Linked DNA regions of Homo sapiens: all the other regions are linked to region 1. The links are contacts of gene promoters, found by promoter capture Hi-C in human tissues and cell types (Jung and others, 2019). All regions are on one chromosome and are shown on one strand. The core of a region is centred on a gene start or on the middle of the fragment in contact, and the rest is flanking DNA. Distances in the headings are between cores, read along the strand shown. Region 1 holds the start of ZNF90 (zinc finger protein 90). Region 2 overlaps LOC105372310 (a long non-coding RNA gene). Region 3 overlaps LOC105372310 (a long non-coding RNA gene).

Evidence for each region. Contacts are between HindIII fragments. The study calls those that stand out against the background at their distance.
Region 2: a fragment that was not itself captured here is called in contact with the fragment with the promoter of ZNF90 in region 1 in 1 of the 25 tissues and cell types used here (bladder).
Region 3: a contact is called between a fragment that was not itself captured here and the fragment with the promoter of ZNF90 in region 1, in 1 of the 25 tissues and cell types used here (mesenchymal stem cells).

What each region holds. Positions count from the first base shown.
Region 1 is chr19:20,075,161-20,079,371 of GRCh38, reverse strand. ZNF90 (zinc finger protein 90) reads right to left here and starts at 1,372. Exons shown (of 4, transcript NM_007138.2): 1 at 1,237-1,372. The coding sequence starts at 1,239. RefSeq lists an enhancer at 950-1,429. The HindIII fragment of the contact is 4,387 bases long and covers 378-4,211 here.
Region 2 is chr19:20,263,440-20,267,650 of GRCh38, reverse strand. The region is part of intron 1 of LOC105372310 (a long non-coding RNA gene); the gene reads left to right. Among named protein-coding and RNA genes, the nearest start is that of ZNF486, 98 kb to the right of the region's middle. The HindIII fragment of the contact is 4,763 bases long and covers 1-4,211 here.
Region 3 is chr19:20,215,060-20,219,270 of GRCh38, reverse strand. LOC105372310 (a long non-coding RNA gene) reads left to right here. Exons shown (of 7, transcript XR_007067164.1): 5 at 1-2,131. Among named protein-coding and RNA genes, the nearest start is that of ZNF486, 50 kb to the right of the region's middle. The HindIII fragment of the contact is 5,893 bases long and covers 1-4,211 here.

The DNA.
Region 1 (4,211 bases), core at 123-2,622:
TTCCTTTCATCTTAATCTTAACTGCATCTGCCTGGACAAACTCCATCTCAAAAAAAAAAAAAAAACCCTCCTTTTGCAGGCTTAATATTAGCCTTAGCTCGGAATCACTAGGTTCAAGCTTTAATTTCCATGCCAGAGTTATTCACTGGGTTTTTGAAACTAAGTGTTGGAAAATACAGTGAAGTTACTAAAACACAGTGTTTACATAAAGGATGGAAATTTTAAGATGCTTACTTTTTTTTTTTTTTTTTTTTTTGAGGACTCTCCCTCTGTCGCGCATGCTGGAGCGCGATGGAGGGATCTCAGCTCACTGCAACCTCTGCCTCCCGAGTTCAAGCAATTCTCGGGCCTCAGCCTCCCAAGTTGCTGGGATTACAGGCGCTTGGCACCACTCCAGGCTAATTTTTGTATTTTTAGTAGAGAGAGGTTTCACCACGTTGGATAGGCTGGTCTAGAAATTTGACCACGTGATCCGCCCGCCTCGGCGCCCCAAAGTGCTGAAATTACAGGCAGGAGCCACCGCGCCTGGCCGGGAAGGGGTTATTAGCCCTAATGCAGTTCTGTTTTTGTTTTCCCTCCATTGGCTGGGGTCAGACCGCACAATCTAAGCTGATCCCGGTTGGCTTACACTCAAGCTTTTTCCAAATCGGGTAATGCGCGATTTGTGAGAAAAGGAGAAGGGAGAAGAAGGGGTAGGGGTGATTTACAACTTTTCCAACTTATGACCAGGAAGTTGCGTCTTTGAAGAAGAACTACGTTGTACTAACAACCCTTTACCTCAAGTGATCCGCTCGCCTCGACCTCCCAAAATGCTGGGATTACAGGCATGAACCACAGCGACCGGCCCCATAAGTTTTTAATAGGAGAAAAGAGAAACTGTCAACCCCATGGACCAAAGCTCTTCCCATTCATGAACCTGCACCCCGAGTCAGGATTCTCCCCCGAGAACCCTCCCGTGCTCCCTGCACAATCTGGGAGAGACGCAGCGCTGTGGGTGCAGAGCTGCCCAGAGAGGGCTCCAGGCCAGGGCAGGGAAGAGACAGGACGCCGCGGGGCCCGGCTGTCGGCGCTGTTGCCATCTTATGGCTGAAGGGGACTGAGGCCGAACTGGGCAAGGAGAAGTCGGTCGCAGATTGTGGAGCTGACTGCGGGGAGGCCTAAGTCCCGCCACAGCCACTTCCCATCGGTTCCAACCAGTCCCTCCCCTCTCTCGGAATGCTGGAAAGGCACTCTCACCATTTCTAGGCTTCCGGGGGTCCCTCAGCTGTGGATCTCCCAATACCTGCAGGTCACAGGGCCACAGAGGCTGGAGAAGAAGACACGAAGCAGCTAAGACCAGATTTGGAGCACCAGCTGCAGCAAGAGACAAATGGCCGCGCCAAACCCGAAAGCCTTCCTCTTCGCTCCAGCTGCCTGCATGATTGGACGGTTTCCAACCCAGCGTCCCTGATTGGATAATGCTTAAGGCCCCGCCTCCTCAGTCCCTGAGTGACAGAAGATGTGATCACATGCTGGGCTGAGTGAAGAAAGAGTCACAGCCTCAGCTGCAGCCTTTTCAGGCCGGGCTTCCTCCTTGAGCTGAGCCAGGCCCACCGGAGAGCATGGGAAAATTCTTTTTTACTCTTTCTCTTTTTGAATGTATTCAAAAGGTGAACAGAAGTATTTGGCTGTCATATTAATAATACAAAAAATTTTTGTTCAAGAGAAAACTTTTACTTTGGTAATAGTGTATTATCAATACGAAAGCTAATTTTAATAAAACCTTGTAAGTAAATCAAATTTGTCATTTTTGACCTCTCGAGACTTACATATACATCATATATATTTTGTAATCTAATGTAATTTTTTTAACTTTTTATATTTTATTTTTATCTACATTCTTTTTATTTTTTCAATTTGAAACAACTTTTAAGTAATTTCAAACTGTTATAGGAGACAGAAAGGAAATCATTTAGGGCCAGGCGCGGTGGCTCACGCCTGTAATTCCAGCACTTTGGGAAGCCAAAGAGGGCGAATCACTTGAGGTCAGGAGTTCAAGACCACCCTGGCCAACACGGTGAAACCCCATTTCTACTAAAAATACAAAACCTTACCTGGGCGTGCTGGTGCACACCTGTAGTCCCAGCTACACCGAAGGCTGAGGCAGGAGAATCTCTTGAACCTAGGAGGTGGAGGTTGTGTAACCGCCCAAGGAGTTTACCTTGCCCTTTGCCCAGACAAAACCAATTCATCAAGACAGGGGAATTTGTGGAGGAAAAGTTAAATATTTAATTTGAACTCAATTGAACGTGGACACAAACAATGGTCACCAAGTCCTGGAAGAGGTTGTGTGAGCCCCTTGAGGCGTTCATCCAGTGCTATTTTAGAGAAATCTCTATGTCAATCTATTCAATCTATTCCTATACATTCGTTATTGAAAAACAATAGACAAGGCCGGGCGCGGTGGCTCACGCCTGTAATCTCAGCACTTTGGGAGGCTGAGGCGGGCGGGTCACGAGGTCAGGAGATCAAGACCATGCTGGCTAACACGCTGAAACCCCGTCTCTACTAGAAATACAAAAAATTAGCCAGGCCTGGTGGCAGGCGCCTGTAGTCCCAGCTAGTCGGGAAGCTGAGGCAGGAGAATGGTGTGAACCTGGGAGGCGGAACTTGGAGTGAGCCGAGATCGCGCCACTGCACTCCAGCCTGGGCGACAGAGCGAGACTCCGTCTCAAAAAAAAAAAAAAAAAAGAAAGAAAGAAAAAGAAAAACAATAGACAATCACAAAAACAAGTTGACCTTTCTGTGTTCCTTGAGACCAGTCATGAAGGGCCCTGGTGACTAGGCCTCATGCTGAACAACTCGTTACAAAAAGAGCTAGGTTCCCAGACCGCGCAGAAGCGTCATTATACCTCTCCTGGTCTGTGCACCGATGGGTGGCCAACTCTGGAGCCCATCCTGTTGCTTTCCGGTCTGGTGGTGAATCCTCCATAGTCTGGTGTGGAGTCAAAGTTAAATAATAAATTTGTGCTAATTGAACGTGGACACAAACAATGGTCACCAAGTCCGGGAACAGGTTGTGTGAGCCCCTAGAGGCGTTCATCCAGCGCTGTTTCAGAGAAATCTGTATTTCAATCTATTCCTATACATTCGTTCTTGAAAAACAACAGACAATCCCAAAAACAAGTGACCTTTTTGTGTTTCTTCAGCTCAGTCGCGAAGGGTCCTCATGACTAAGCCTCGTGCCAAACAACTCATTACAAAAGAGCTAGGGTCCCAGACTGCGCCAAAGCTTCGTGACAGCTCTCCTCACCTGTGCACAATTGTTAGCTTGCTATTGGACTTTACTGGAAACAAAACACCTCTGCTTTAACCATGATGTCTTTATGAGGCCTAAATTTCCTGTTATGATTTAGGTCACGAGTTCCCTCAAAATCCACAGGAGGCCAAGATGTGTGGATCACGAGGTCAGAAGTTTGAGACCAGGCTGGCCAACATGATGAAACCCCATCTCTACTAAAAATACAAAAACTAGCCAGGTGTGGTGGCATGCATCTATAATCCCAGCTACTCAGGGGGCTGAGGCAGGAGAATCACTGGAATCCCAGGAGGCAGAGGTTGCAATGAGCTGAGGTCTCACCACTGCACTCCAGCCTATGTGACAGACTGAGACTCCATCTCAAAAACAAACAACCGAAAAACATAACCATTTCTGATGAAGAAAGGGGTGGGAGCAGCCAGTTAACTGAACTAGTAGACATCCTCTGAGCTCTTCGAAAGGAAGGAAGAAGGATTTGTCACTTGTATACCAACTCTTGCTCAGTAGCAAATGGTCTTACTACCTGGATGCCCCAATGACAACAAAACAAATGGTTAATTGGGAATAAAGAGGTATGGGGAAAACAATACTGGGAAGATACATGAATTCTGGTACACACTACCATTATCATTGTTTTCCTGTATTAATTAATTTATTTTTTTTGACACGGAGTCTAGCTCTGTCACCAGGCTGGAGTACAGTGGCTCAGTCTCGGGTCACCAGGCTTGAGTGCAGTGGCTGAGTCTCAGCTCACTGCAACCTCTGCCTCCCAGGTTCAAGTGATTCTCCTGCCTCAGCCTCCCGAGTAGCTGGGATTACAGGCATGCACCGCCACGCCCAGCTAATTTTTGTACTTCTCTAGTAGAGGCGGGGTTTCACTGTGTTCACCAGGGTGGTCTCAATCTCCTGACCT
Region 2 (4,211 bases), core at 825-3,324, 190 kb before region 1:
AATGTAAGTAGCCAAAAAGATAGAACACTATTCAACCATTTTTGTAGCAGAGTGAAAGCCTACCTTCAGCAGGCACCTGGCTTCAAGCTGCTAAACTACATCCTATTATGAAGATGTGAAAAGTTTTTGTCATTGAATATAAGTAATTAGCATACACAGATGGCCTCTTCAGTATCCAGGTGAATTTAGGATGAACTATGTATGACATGGTGCTGGAAATTCTTCTACTTGTGGCCTAATTATAGTGACCATCTTTCCGTCTCTTAAGCAGATTGATGAAGATCCGTGTCACATTCAAGTTCAATTGTGTAATAAAACAGTTTCTTTCTATTCTATTATTGTGGAGTTTCTCTGGGGTGGAGAAAAATTTTCATTTAATTATTGTTTCCAAACACTGTCTAGAATTACCAGACATGATATAAACACATAAGGTGACATCCAGAATTTACTCTAGAGGAGACTTTCCCTCTCAGGCTTCCAGTCAGCTCAGAGTTGTGCAGCAAAGTGCATGCTGTCCCCTAAATATGCAGGCAGAATTGTGTCTCTGCCTAGTTGGCATTCATAGTCCTCTGCAGTCACTTCTAGAGAGGCTAGATCACATTTCTACAAACTTCACAGGGCAGCAATCAATCATTTTACCTCTTTCACTGACTCTTGTATCTTCAGACTGGAACTGATACAGAAACTATTTGGCCCAGAAACCCAATCAGAGTAACGTGTGTGCATTGAGTAGACATATAGACATGAGAATCTCCACTTTCCCCTTCCTCCTCTTGCCAAAGTGCTCACAAATGTACAGGTAACACCTGCTGCTACTCCAGCCATTCAGGCCCTAAATGTGCAGCTCCAAATTTTGAATTTAGATCTTGAGATTTGGGAAATAAAAAACTTTTATCTAAAAAATGCAAGTCCTTTTGGTTATCAAATTCAGAGAGATGAAAATAAAAGTGCAGTTATTTCTCCCCTCTTTGAACTATGTATTCATGTCTTGAAACTGTTCACTATTGCCACAAGTAGCTATAAATTAAACTAATAATGCCACATTGGACACTATATCCCATACCCTAAACCATAACGATATATATCTAATCAATAATCAATGCTATTTCTGTAAATAAATAAACATTTCTGACAAACAACTTTGTATTATCTTTTAATGGTAGGTTGTATTGACATTTTTGAAAAATAAAATTTTTTGACCCCTGAGCAAAAATATATTGAAGTGTTTTATATATACATATTTTTGAACTTTCCAGTTTGACTTTTGCTTTTAATTCCTAGTTTAATTCAGTTTTTGTTAGAAAATACACAGTGTATGGCCGGGCGTGGTGGCTCATGCCTGTAATCCCAGTACTTTCAGAGGCCGAGGCAGGCAGATCACCTGAGGTCAGGAGTTTGAGATCAGCCTCAACATGGAGAAACCCCATCTCTACTAAAAATACAAAATTAGCCTGGTGTGGTGGTGCATGCCTGTAATCCCAGCTACTTGGGAGGCTGAGGCAGAAGAATTGCTTGAACCTGTGAGGCCGAGGTTGCGGTGAGCCAAGATCGTGCCACTGCACTCCAGCCTGGGCAACGAGAGCGAAACTCCATCTCAAAAAAAAAAAAAAAAGGTGGCCAGGTGCGGTGGCTCCGCCTGTAATCCCAGCACTTTGGGAGGCCGAGGTGGGAGGATCATGAGGTCAGGAGATCGAGACCATCCTGGCTAACATGGTGAAACCCTGTTCTCTACTAAAAGTACAAAAAATTAGCCGGGTGAGGTGTCAGACGCCTATAGTCCCAGCTACTTGGGAGGCTGAGGCAGGAGAATGGCCTGAACCCGGGAGGTGGAGCTTGCAGTGAGCCGAGATCACAGCACTGCACTCCAGCCTGGGCAACAGAGCGAGACTCCGTCTCCAAAAAAAAAAAAAAAAAAAAAAATTTGAGAGGTGTCTTCTAACTCAACATGTCTTTTCCATCTGAAAAATATTCATAATTCCTGGTGGATCCTCTTACCTTGGTCTCCTAAAGTGTTAAGATTATAGGCAAGAGCCACTGTACCCAGTCAGTATTTTAAAATTTAATAAAACCTGCTATGTGCCCTAACAAAATACACCAGATGAAAATAAGAATATTGTGCATTATCTTGGTTTTGACTGGGGAGTTTTGTGTGTGTCTGCGAACGCTAGTTGGTCTATAATATGGTTTGGATGTCCATGTTTTCCAAACCTCATGCTGCAATATAAATCCTCAATGTTGAATGTGGGACCTGGTGGGACACATTTGGGTCATAGGGGCAAATTTTTCATGAATGGCTTGGTACATCCTCTTGGTAACCAAAAAGTTTACACTCTATTAATTCAAATGAGAGCTGGTTCATTAAAAGAACCTGGCTTCTTCACCTCACACTTGCTCTGTCTCTTACCATATAATATATCCAGTTACTCTTTACCTTCCACCATGATTTTAAGCTTCCTGAAATCCTCACCAGAAGCAGATGCTGGCACACACTTATACAGTTTGCCAAACTGTGAGCCATCTAAACCTTTTTTCTTTATAAATTATGCACTCTCAAATATTCATCTATATGCAAAATAATTAATATAGTCTATAATGGTGTCTAGGTTTTCTGTTTCTTATTTTTTATCTAAACTTTCTATTTATTATTGCAAATGGGGTTTTGATGTTTACAATTATGTTGCTATGTATGTCTTGCTTCACTTTTGTCAATAGTTGCTTTATATATTTTGGAGCCCTGATGTTATATACACATATATATATAGATAAGTAAATATTATAGTTATAGATTCCTGGTAAATCAACTCACTTTAACATAATATAACGTCAATCTTTGTCTCATGGTACTACCTGACTTAAAGCATATTATGTCTAATATAATTATGACCACTGCACTCAATCGTGGTTACTATTTTCATGGAATGTACATTTTTTTCATTCTGTTACTTTCAGCCTATTTGACTCAATGCTTAAATGAATCTCTTGTAGGCAGCATAGCGTATGCTTTTTAAAAAACCGCACAAGCATTCTATTTCCTTTTTTTTATTATTTATTTATTTTTATTTATTTTTTTATTTTTTTGAGAGATGGAGTCTTGCTCTGTTGCCCAGGCTGGTGTGCAGTGGCACAATCTTGGCTCACTGCCACCTCCATTTCCCAGGTTCAAGTGATTCTCCTGCCTCAGCCTCCTGAATATCTGGGACTACAGATGCGTGCCACCATACCCAACTATCTTTTGTATTTTTAGTAGAGATGGGGTTTCACCATATTGGCCAGGCTGGTCTTGAACTCCTGACCTCATGATCCTCCCACCTCAGCCTCCCAAAGTGCTGGGATTACAGGCGAGAGCCACTGTACCCAGCCTATATATGTATTTATTTATTTTGCGACGGAGTTTTGCTCTTGTTGCCCAGGCTGGAGTGCAATGGTGCAATCTCTGCTCACTGCAAACTCCACCTCCTGGGTTCAAGCAATTCTCCTGGCTTAGCCTCCTGAGTAGCTGGGATTACAGGTGTCTGCCACCACACCCTGCTAATTTTTTGTATTTTTAGAGAGACGGGGTTTCACCATGATGACCAGACTGGTCTTTAAGTCCTGACATCAAGTGATCTGCCTGCCTCAGTCTCCCAAAAGGCTGGGATTATAGGCATGAGCCACCATGCCCAGCCTCATTTATTTTTCAGAATGGAACTCACTGTGCCAACCAGGCTGATTTGCATATTTCACTGCTGCTTGAATCTCTCAAAGTCTGCTGATTATCTCATTTCAGTCTCTCAAATACCTGGATTACAAGTATGTGCCGTCACACCAGGCTAGCTTTTTTGTATTTTTTATAGAGACAGAGTTTTGCCATGTTGCCTAGGCCTGTCTTGAACTCCTGGGATCAAGTGATCAGCCTACCTTGGCCTTCCAAAGTCCTAAAATTACATTTCATTTTATTTTATTAAGTAGTTTAATTAACTTATATTTAAAATAATTGCTTAAAGAAATAAAGTTGTTATCCAGGCGCTGTGGCTCATGCCTGTAATCCCAGCACATTGGGAAACTGAGGTAGGTGGATCATCTGAGGTCAGGAGTTTGAGATCAGCCTGATCAATATGATGAAACCCTCTCTCTACTAAAAATGCAAAAGTTAGCCATGCGTGGTGGCATGTGCCTGTAGTCCAAGCTACTGGGAAAGCTGAGACAAAAGAATTACTTGAACCGCGGAGGCA
Region 3 (4,211 bases), core at 887-3,386, 140 kb before region 1:
CAGCTAATTTTTGTATTTTTAGTAGAGGCAAGGTTTCACCATCTTGGTCAGGCTGGTCTTGAACTCCTGCCCTCATGATCCACCCACCTCAGCCTTTCAAAGTGCTGGAATTGTGGGACTTAGCCACTGCACCCAGCCGTATAGTTTCTATTTCTTTTACCTTGCTAACTGTACATATTTATTTTCCAATAAAATTACCCTAGGAAACCTGAAGGGATTTCTTTAAATTGCATATTAGTATATAGTATAAAGTTGACAGGGCCGTGGCTAGAAAATATTAAAATTACAGAAACTCTGGGATTTAAGTTTCTTTTAGGTAGGCTTAGAAAAACAAAACTGGAAGTATCCCAGTGGCATAGAGAACAGAATTCTACAAAGGATCCTCACTCTGCCCCAGACCTGTTCAGATTCACCTTTTTTGGAGGCTTTATGTAGGTCCAGACCTACCCTGGAGTCTTGCCTCACAGAACTGATTGGCAGAGATCAGTTTTGGCTGGTGAATCCTGCAGTATTTCTAGAGCTGCTGCTCACAATTTCCTGAAATCCAAAAGCAGATAAATACAAAAAAATAAAGTATGTATTTGAGGGTCTTCATTTTTAAATTTTCTTTTTTTTTTTTTTTTTTTTTGAGACGGAGTCTCACTCCGTTGCCCAGGCTGGAGTGCAGTGGCGCGATCTCGGCTCACTGCAAGCTCTGCCTCCCGGGTTCATGCCATTCTCCTGCCTCAACCTCCGAGTAGCTGGGACTACAGGCGCTCGCCACCACGCCCAGCTAATTTTTTGTATTTTTAGTAGAGATGGGGTTTCACCACGTTAGCCAGGATGGTCTCGATCTCCTGACCTCGTGATCCGCCCGCCTCTGCCTCCCAAAGTGCTGGGATTACAAGCATGAGCCACCGCACCCAGCCGTTTTTTAATTTTCTATGAAAACCATTGGATGCAGAGACATTCTATTTAGCAACTTGTTTCTTATTCCCGCAGATCCAGTAGTTGCTCCGTAAGTCAAAAAAAAGTAAATACAAACAGAATAAAATTTTCTCTAAACTAACCTCTTCCTTTTTATGTCTCATTCATCTGTCTATACTTAGCTTTTATTCTATACAATTTTTAAAAATTTTTGATGACAGAAAAACAAGAAATTAAAATGCTTGGCTCTTTTTCTAAATCCTGGTAATTACCTTCTGTTTCTTCTGTAAACTTTAAAGAGCCAGCAAAGAATATAAAACTTTAGGATGGAGATGAGTTGTCCTTATTTGTACCAGAGTTATCTGATTGTGACAACAGTGCTAAGTGTAAGGGACCCTGTGGTTTGCCTGCTTTTCTAACTAATGTTAATAATGAGCCAAGGAGGAGTAACATCAGCATTGACAGGGGACTTGTTTAAAACACTGATTCACAGACCCTTTTCAAACCTGCAGAATCACATTACTTAAAGTGTGGCCAGAATTACCAAGTGAATTATAAGCTCATTAAAGCTTGAGAGGCAATGCTTAGCTTAGTGGTTATCAGCCCAGGCTTCTCATTAGGATCACATGGCCAATATGCAGAAATCTCTTGTACCCTCACCACAGCTTCTGTTTATTATTCTGGTTGAAAACATCCATGTTGTTTTAATGAAGGGCCTCATGTGACTCTAAGGTGAGGCCAGAATCAGGTATGAGGCCTTCAAAATATATTCATGAGAATTAAGTTCCACTTTTGGACTAAAGGGTAGCCACAGGGCCTGTTCTGTTTTGGCTTGGTATGGACAGGTCAGAGTGGTGTATATTTGTATTACTGTATGAAGCAGGTACTATGTGCTCAAGATTGTGATACAGAGAACTCTGCTGGGCATAATACATTATATAATTTAATCCTCATAACACCCTGGGAGCTGGTACTAAGGATTTAATACTAATTTCCAGGATTTAGAAAAAGGGCCCAGCATTTTAATTTCTTCTCTTTTTCTCTGCAGGTTCTGTAGCAGAAATTGCTGGTGTCTGTGGCAGGGGAGGGCACCTGAGGACAGGGAAGAAGAAACATATTTTTATCTTTATGGAGCAGCACATTGTTCCCAAATACCTTCTGCTTTAAGGGACAGAAATGGATGGACTTTTTCTGTCTTTTCTGCCAGTTGATGTCATGCTTGCAGGTAAACATGTGGTACTGACACCCTTAAAGGCATATTCTCAAGAGGCAGGTAAAAAACCAATTCCAAAAAAGTATTGCAACAAAAGGAAGCACCAAATAACTATAATATCTTTATGGCTTGCAAAAATATAGGCAGAAAAGGGCTTTCTTTTCTAGGGAAGAGCAAACAAGATTAGAAAGGAGGTGGGAGAGGAACAGCAAATGGAGGGTGAAAAAGTCAGATTTTAGATCAGAGAATGGCTTACCCTGAAATCAGCATGTTCTTAGGAGGGACATAAAATGGGGTTGTATGTTGACTCAGACTGAGGGTAGCTTGAATTTCAGGAGCCTGAGAGAAGATAAACTTAAGTAAAATTTGATTAAGAAATATTTTATTTTAGGCTGGGTGTGGTGGCTCAAGTCTGCAATCCCAGCACTTTGGGAGGCTGAGGCAGGCGGATCACCAGAGGTCAGGAGTTCAAGACCAGCCTGGCCAACATGGTGAAACCCTGTCTACTAAAAATACAAAAATTAGCTGGGCGTTGTGGCAGGTGCCTGTAATCCCAGATACTTGGGAGGCTGAGGTAGGAAAATTGCTTGAGCCCTGGAGGTGAAAGCTGAAGTGAGCCGAGATGGCCCCACTACACTCCAGCCTGGGTGACAGAGTGACACTCCATCTCAAAAAAAAAAAAAATCATAATTGATTTTGACTGCTGAAGGCAAATTCAGCTGGTTTTTTGTTTTTTTTTTAATGAGAAAAAGGAGAAAATGTGCAGAGTGTATGTCTGGCTGTGTGATAGGCAAGAAAAGGGAGCATCATCTTAATCATAACGGGAAGAGTGTTTCTTTCCATAAACTGTTCCTGAAGCACACAAAGGAAGGAGAATTTTATTAATCACAAATATTTTTCATAATTATCTATGTGTTTCATCTTTCCTCATCTCTTTTCTTTGTTCTATGCATTTCTTCCACTTGGCTTTTCCTGGGCTGCATCTTATATATTAAACCAGTAAGCATAACTACAGTGTTTTGCTGAGTTCTGTGAGTAGCTCTACCAAATTACTGAGCTTCAGGGAAGTTATGGGAGTCCCCAGTTTTTAAACAGTAGCTCAGAACCATAGATGGGCCCATGGGATTTATGACTGGCATCTGCAGTGAGAACAATGTTGTGGGACCGAGCCCTGAATCAGGGTCTGTGCTGACTCTGGGTAGTGTTAGAAATCAAATGTTATACAATAAGTTGGTGTTGGAGAATTGTTTGATGTTCAGCAAATGCTACAGATTTGGTGCCAGAAAGAAGATATCATGGAGGCCTGGCCTGGAATAAAACTCTGGGTGTTTGGGAATGGGAGATTCTGCTCTCCTGTACACAGATTGTCACACTGCCCATTGTCCTGTGATTCCAGGTCTTCTCCCAGGGTGACAGAGGACTGAAAACTTACAGGAAAGGAGCTCTGATGACACATCCCCTTTTCTTGCAGCTGCCACCACAGGATTCCCACATACTCCCAAACACACACACTAGACATTGACATGTCCACACTCCTCCCAGGACTAGGCACCACCCTCAGTGACTTCACCATGACATTTTTGGTCCAAGCACTTCTAGCCAAAAAGCCAAAAGTATCTACAAGTTTCCTTGCATATTCCCATCCCCGGATATCGAATCTGCAGCAGCAACCTGTTTTCTCCACCAGCCTAGGGTTCTGGCCCTCCTTTTCATAATCTCATCTGCCTGCATGCACACAGAAATAAATCAGAGTACAGCCCCACCTGGTCAACTATCTGTAGCAAAAATCTGTCCATTCACTGACATTGCACTCTCTCTCACCTGGGGATTTTTTTTCTTTTTTTTTTTAATTTATTTTTTTTATTGATCATTCTTGGGTGTTTCTCGCAGAGGGGGATTTGGCAGGGTCATAGGACAATAGTGGAGGGAAGGTCAGCAGATAAACAAGTGAACAAAGGTCTCTGGTTTTCCTAGGCAGAGGACCCTGCGGCCTTCCGCAGTGTTTGTGTCCCTGGGTACTTGAGATTAGGGAGTGGTGATGACTCTTAACGAGCATGCTGCCTTCAAGCATCTGTTTAACAAAGCACATCTT